2 separate regions of the Homo sapiens genome follow, and region 2 is linked to region 1. The links are contacts of gene promoters, found by promoter capture Hi-C in blood cells and fetal thymus (Javierre and others, 2016). All regions are on one chromosome and are shown on one strand. The core of a region is centred on a gene start or on the middle of the fragment in contact, and the rest is flanking DNA. Distances in the headings are between cores, read along the strand shown. Region 1 holds the start of C8orf34 (chromosome 8 open reading frame 34). Region 2 has its middle 65 kb from the start of CPA6.

Region 1 (3,093 bases), core at 202-2,701:
GGCTCTACGCTATACCTTTTAGCAAATAGAAATGTTGGTATTCACTCTGTGTATTTAATTTCTCCTGGACACATTAAAAAATACATAAGTAAATATACCTTCGAACCAAAATGGAAAGCACGAGGCAACCCTGGACACCTCACTGCTATTTAACTTAACCCTCCCTAGGCAGATCATATGAGTCCGATTGTAAAAGTATTAATGTGGACATCTTTCCACTCTGGATCAAGTCCATTTCAGGTTATCAGGGATGGTTAAGCTCCTAGCTATTCTAGCAGATTTCTTATGTCTTAATGCATGAAATTAATAATAGTTCCTGGGATATTCCACACTTATCTATTACATGTTTCCACATATTTAAAATACAGAAGGAAAACATGAACACCAATAAAGAAACTATGAGTAACAGAAATCCAGAACACAGTGAAGAAAGAAAGAAAAAAATATATACTGCTGCAGTCAGCTTTTAGGAAAACTGTTTCCATCATTCTGAAAATTTATATTTATTAGAAATAAATCTAATTTTGGCAGCACATCATGGTTAGGAGCCAGGGAAATTGTCATTGGGACCTTAGTATTGTATTTCACAAGAAAGAGAGCTCTGTGAGGAAGCCTGGGCTATCTGCAAACCTTCGACTCGGAAATCCCTGCATAATAAGAAAGGTATTGGCTAAATTTGAGCAGCTCACGCAGTATCTAGAGGAAACATTATGAAGTGGGATAGTGTGGTGTCTGAGATGCAGTTATAGGTATACAGACATGACTCAAGGCGTGGATTAGGAAGGCCAACTTTGGAGGGGAGGGCTGGCTCGCTCATTTCTCTTCTCCCTGTCAAATGCTGAAAGGCTGGTTCCAGCCTTTGAGCTCCTGCACTTTGAGAGTTTTCAGCTGGGTTCTCAGGCTGCGTTCACCCGTCGACTTGCTCCAGGCCAAACCAGATTTTGAAAAGGAAGGCAACTTCTTTTTCGCGGCAAACCCTTAAACCCACGCACCTTCTCAAAACTCTGCCCTTCTCAACCCCTGCGCTAGAGTAGGCAGGGCAGAAGGTGCTGAGGAGAGGCTCAGAAGGGGCGGTGGGGACGATCCCCTTTCGAACTGCATTTGTAGCTGCCAAGGAGTAGCCAACAAGCACCAGATTTATGTGCACTTTGAAAGAAGCACCTTCACCATTGGCTTTTTAAGCGGCGCTGTCGCTAGGGAGCGGCTGGTAGGGCGAGCAGCCTCGGGGAGCAGCCCGGGCTGTTTGTTCCGTCACCGGGGAAAGGAGGTACACACAGTCGCGCGCGCACGGACACACACACACACGCACGCACGCACACACACCGGTGGCGAGTTCGAGCCCCGCGGCCCCTGTCCGCCCGCGTGCGCCCCTCGACACAGCTCGCCTCCCGCCCCCTGATTCCTGCTGCTGCCGCCCAGAGGAGAAAGGAACCTCTGCCTCGAATTTCCCCACTGCGCCGGGCGCTGCGGAGAGCGGCGAGGGTGGGCGCGAGGCGGAGAACGCGATGAATGAGTTCTCCCCTCGCCTCGGAGTTGTCTGAGTTGGCGGCGCTGCGCCCAGGCTTCCGGCTCTCAGCGCCCCACGCGCGCGTGGCTCCCCGGGCTGCCACCCACGCCCGCGGCCGGGGCCGAGCCAGCCACGCAGGGCAGCCGAGGCTCCGGAGCTCCTGTCCCGGCCCCAGTCCGGGTAAAAGGAGGGTTGTCCCCAGCGGAGGCGCACAGCCGCGCGTTCTCCCTGCACTCTCTTCGCGGTCCCATCTGTTCCCCATGGCGTCTCATCCGCAAACCCGGATCCAGGCTTACCTGGAGAAGAACAAGATCGGTCCCCTGTTTGAGGTAAGGCGCTGTGGAGGAGGGCAGTCCCGTTGTCTTTAGGGGAAGGGGTGCAGTAATGAAAACAGAACACTCCCAATCCCACCCCTCCCAGGGAAGGAGGGCTAGAGAACCAACGCGCGGGAGAGGGCGCCCTGGGATTCACTGGCATTCGCTCTGTCCCGGCCAGGTGTCCTGGAACGCGGCCGGGCGGGCACTTAGCCAGTTACCTGAACGCGGACAGGTGAGCTCGGGAGGGCCCAGCCTCAGCCTGGCAGGGGAAGTTTTGGCCCTCTGACTGTCCTGCACCTCTCAGCTACATGTTCAGGACCCGGGCAGGCTGAGGCAGGCGACGCATACGGATGCACACACTCAGACTGTGTTGCACACGCACACTTTCTTTTTTGAATTCACGCTATCTTGAGTGTTCGTGTTGGATTTTCTTTTTTCTTTTCTTTTCTTTCCTTCTTTTTTTTTTTTTTTTTTTTTTTTTTTTTAATGAGGGCGGTAATAGAACCCGAAAAGGTGGAGGAGGTGCTTAGCAGTTAATACAATTAACTGGAAGACAGCTGAACTGGTGAGGAGTAGGCTTCAGTCGGTGCGGGCGTGATGAATGAAATTGGCAAACTGAGAGACTGCCATTTGGTCACTGGACGAAAGGAGAGTCCTTTGCACTGCAGACCCCACATGTGTTAGCAGGAGAAAGGGACGGAGAAAGGTTCTGAAAAGCACACACGTATTTGTGGAAGAAGACTATAGCTCTGAGCTGGTTTTGTTTTTTTTTCTCTCTCTCGCCATTAAAGAATTTAAGACAAAAATACAGTAGAAGGAAGAGCGCGAGGACACGAGAAAATGAGAACAAGAGATTGAAGCCTGGCACCAGCAAAGCGTCCCGCGGGTTGCCAGGGTGCTGAGCAGGGGTGGGGCGTGCGGACCGTAGTCAGAAGTGGAGGCCCTTGCGGAGGGACTCCCTTGGTCCCATCCAGTTCAGGGGGCACTGACCGGCGGCGAGAGTTCGCGGGAGGGTCGAGGTGCTCCCGCCTTGCCCCCGCCTTGCCCCCGCCTTGCCCCCGCCCCCCACGTCTCCCAGAAGCAGTTGTAGCTGTTCTTAACAGCTTGGTTTGGGGTGAGGGCTTGGTATGGGGAGGAGGTTACGTGTCAGTGTCTGAGAGAGGCAGAATCGCGGCAAGTGGAAGGGGCTGCACTGGAGATCGCGGAAAACCTAGCAAAGACTGAAGAGAAGCAAGTGAGAACTGTGGAGAACAAAAAAATAATGCGAGT
Region 2 (3,229 bases), core at 308-2,807, 520 kb before region 1:
GATGTTCCCAGGTCATAAAAACCTAGGCCTAGAGTTACACTGTCTCAGCCTGGTAAGGGTTTCAATGGTATAGCGGAAAGTTGGTTTTGAGTTTTCAACTTAGGGTTGTCAGCTAATGGTTCTGGCAGGAGAACAGGCTTTAAAATTTTTCCTGATTTGTAAGACGGAAAATAGCATTTTCCTTTTAGGATTGCTGTGAAGATGGATTGAGAGATTTGGGTTGATGCTAATGGCAGATCCAAAATAATTGCCACTGAAGCAAGATTAAAGTTGATTTCTTTGTAATGCAAAAGTCCTAATGAGAAGTTCAGGCTTGGTATGGTGGGTGTACCTTCCTCAGAGTCCAGGCTCCTATCTTATTGCATGACAGTTTTAAACATTCAGCTTCCACATGGGACCTACGATGAGTATTTCCAAATCCAAGTCAGTGGGAACTGGATGAGGGGAAGTGAGTGGTGTGGCTTTTCCTTTAAGGACCAGACCTAGAGTTGTACACCTCGTTTCCATTCATGCTGCCATGTCTAGAAGTTAGCCAGGTTCCCATACTTTTGTTGCAAGTGCAGTCTTAAAAACATAACCTTCTGCTGGGCAGTTATGACCTCTGTTAAAAATACTTATTATTTTGTTAATACTATATAAGAAGGATATCATGAATATTAGAAATAACTAAAGTCTCTGCCACAGATACGATGACAAAGCACTTGGTCGATGAACAATGCTGATACGCATTACTACTGACATCCTCCATCTTATTGGCTTAGGGTCTATTATCTCCTACACACAATATTATTTTGGATTTTGATTGAAAAGTAAAATATTTGGGGATCGTGTTACTTGAAAATTTTAGGAAGTAATATCTGTCTCTGAATCAAGCTTCGATGTGAAATAGATCCTGAACCAAATCCCTAGAGAAAGTACCTTTGTATTTATAAAAGGATTTTTGTTCCTATATTGCCTTGTAGAAAAACAGTAATAAATAATGACATTTAGAAACCTTATCAGGGTATCGCACACACTCCAAGCTCTATGGCATTTCAAGTGGTATGTTTACTTTTGCAGAACATTCGAGCCCTTAATGCTGCTGGCGGCTATAACATTTTTCTAATTATTCTTTACAAGCAATGAATTGCACAGTTAGCAATTTACCTGATGGGTAGAACATGGTTAATATGGTGAGTGGCCTGTTTACTTATCTAAGAAGACCTTTTAAAATCTCATAATGTTCACTTTAATAGGTAAGAAGAGGTAAATTATAGGGTTTGAAATGAGTTGGCCCTTGGAAAAATTGTGTAGTGAGCAAGCTGTTCTTTAACATTTTTCCACATTCTTTTTAGGTTTTATTCTTCCTTCTCTTGCCAGTGGCCAGCACCATTAAGTTTCTGCTCCTTTGAATGCATCTCAACTCTGTCTTGTTGGCAGAGAGTGAGTACCTATTATTATTATCACTTTGTTTATGAAGAAACCCCTTATGCCAAAGAAATAGAACCTAAATTCCTGGGACGGGGGTACCAGAAAGATTTGGAAGAAGATACTTTTCTTTGTACCCATAAATTCCTACCATGTTGGCAGCTGATTCCTCATACACAAAGGTGGGCATTGGCTAGATTCGTTGGAAAAGAAGCATTTCCATTTTTGGCAAAATCAGCACATGGTTATGAGAATAAGGAAGGAGGCAAGGGTTACTTGGCCTTGAGACTATTAAAATTACTGAGACTATTAGAATGTTTTGTGAAGTTTGGAGTGGGCTTTGAGTTATAATTATTAATACTGTTATTCTTGATGAGTACAGATAGAAGAATAGCCATACTTCTCTGAGAATTTTTATTTACATAATTGATTACACCACATTGGAACTGTTTGAGGTCGCTCTGCCTAGAGAAATGGTGCATGTCACAAAAGGAGATGTTTAAATACCTTCCCTCCTTCCCACGTGGCTTAGCTTTTTTAAAGTGGGCTTGGGCTGACTTCTTTTGTTCCAACACTTGAAGCGATATCTGAAAAACTGAGAGTTGACAGCAGATAACATTTTTGGGGAATTTTGGAATCCCTCAGCTGCATCTTTGACCATACAAGTCATTTTTATTTTTTTCTTTAAATTTTATGTATTCTATTTAAAAATGCATTTTATTTATCTTTTAACTAAACTTTTATTTTAAGTTCAGGGTACACGAGCAGGTTTGTTATGTAGGCAAACTTGTGTCATGCGGGTTTGTTGTACAGATTATTTTGTCACCCAGCTTTTAAGCTTAGTAGCCATTATTTTTCCTGATCCTCTCCCTCTTCCCACTTTTCACCATCTGATAGGCCCCCATGTGTGTTGTTCCCCTGTAGTCTATGTGTTCTCATCATTTAGCTTCCAGTTATAAGTGAGAACACGTGGTATTTGGTTTTCTGTTCCTGCATTTGCTAAGTTTGCTAAGGAAAATGGCCTCTAGCTTCATCCATGTTCCTGCAAAGGACATGATTCATTCTTTTTTGTGGCTGCATAGTATTCCATGGTATATATGTGTCATATTTTCTGTATCCACTCTATAATTGATGGGCATTTAGGTTGATTCCATGTCTTTGCTATTGTGAATAGTGCTGCAATGAACATATGCACACATGTATTTTTATGACAGAAAGAGCTATTCCTTTGGGTATACAGCAGGTAATGAGATTGCTGAATTGAATGGTATTTCTGTCTTTAGGTCTTTGAGGAATCACCACACTGTCTTTCCCAATGGTTAAACTAATTTACACTGGAAATTGAGAGTGTTGCTAAGTACTAAAAATCATAAAATATTTTCTTGATAAAAAATTATATATAGATATGTCTTGTTATCTTGTGGCTCCAGCAGTTCAACTTTTCTCCCAGGGAAGGTAGTGATAGAGAAGATGTGTTAGTAAAATAAAAGCTCAGCCAGGCGCCATGGCTCATGCCTATAATTCTAACACTTTGAGAGGCCAAGGTGGGTGGATTGCTTGACTCCAGGAATTCAAGACCAGCCTAGGCAATATGGTGAAACTCTTCTCTAATAACAACACAATAAAATTAGCTGGGTGTGGTGACACATGCCTGTAGTCCCAGCTGCTTGGGAGGCTGAAGTGGGAGGATTGCTTGAGATTGAGAGGTCAAGGCTGCAGTGAGCTGTGATTGCACCACTGTACTACAGCCTAGTGAGAACACATCTTGGAAAAAAAAAGAAAATAAAAGCTCAAGACATTTTCAAATTGTGCAAAAGTTGGA

Evidence for each region. Contacts are between HindIII fragments. The CHiCAGO score rates a contact against its expected background, and 5 or more counts as called.
Region 2: a fragment that was not itself captured here is called in contact with the fragment with the promoter of C8orf34 in region 1 in 2 of 17 cell types (M2 macrophages and endothelial precursors); the score reaches 7.9 in M2 macrophages.

The regions. Positions count from the first base shown.
Region 1 is chr8:68,329,504-68,332,596 of GRCh38, forward strand. C8orf34 (chromosome 8 open reading frame 34) reads left to right here and starts at 1,452. Exons shown (of 14, transcript NM_052958.4): 1 at 1,452-1,836. The coding sequence starts at 1,510. C8orf34-AS1 (C8orf34 antisense RNA 1) reads right to left here and starts at 1,988. Exons shown (of 3, transcript NR_038877.1): 1 at 1,804-1,988. The HindIII fragment of the contact is 3,988 bases long and covers 1-3,093 here.
Region 2 is chr8:67,809,730-67,812,958 of GRCh38, forward strand. No RefSeq gene overlaps it. Among named protein-coding and RNA genes, the nearest start is that of CPA6, 65 kb to the left of the region's middle. The HindIII fragment of the contact is 1,372 bases long and covers 872-2,243 here.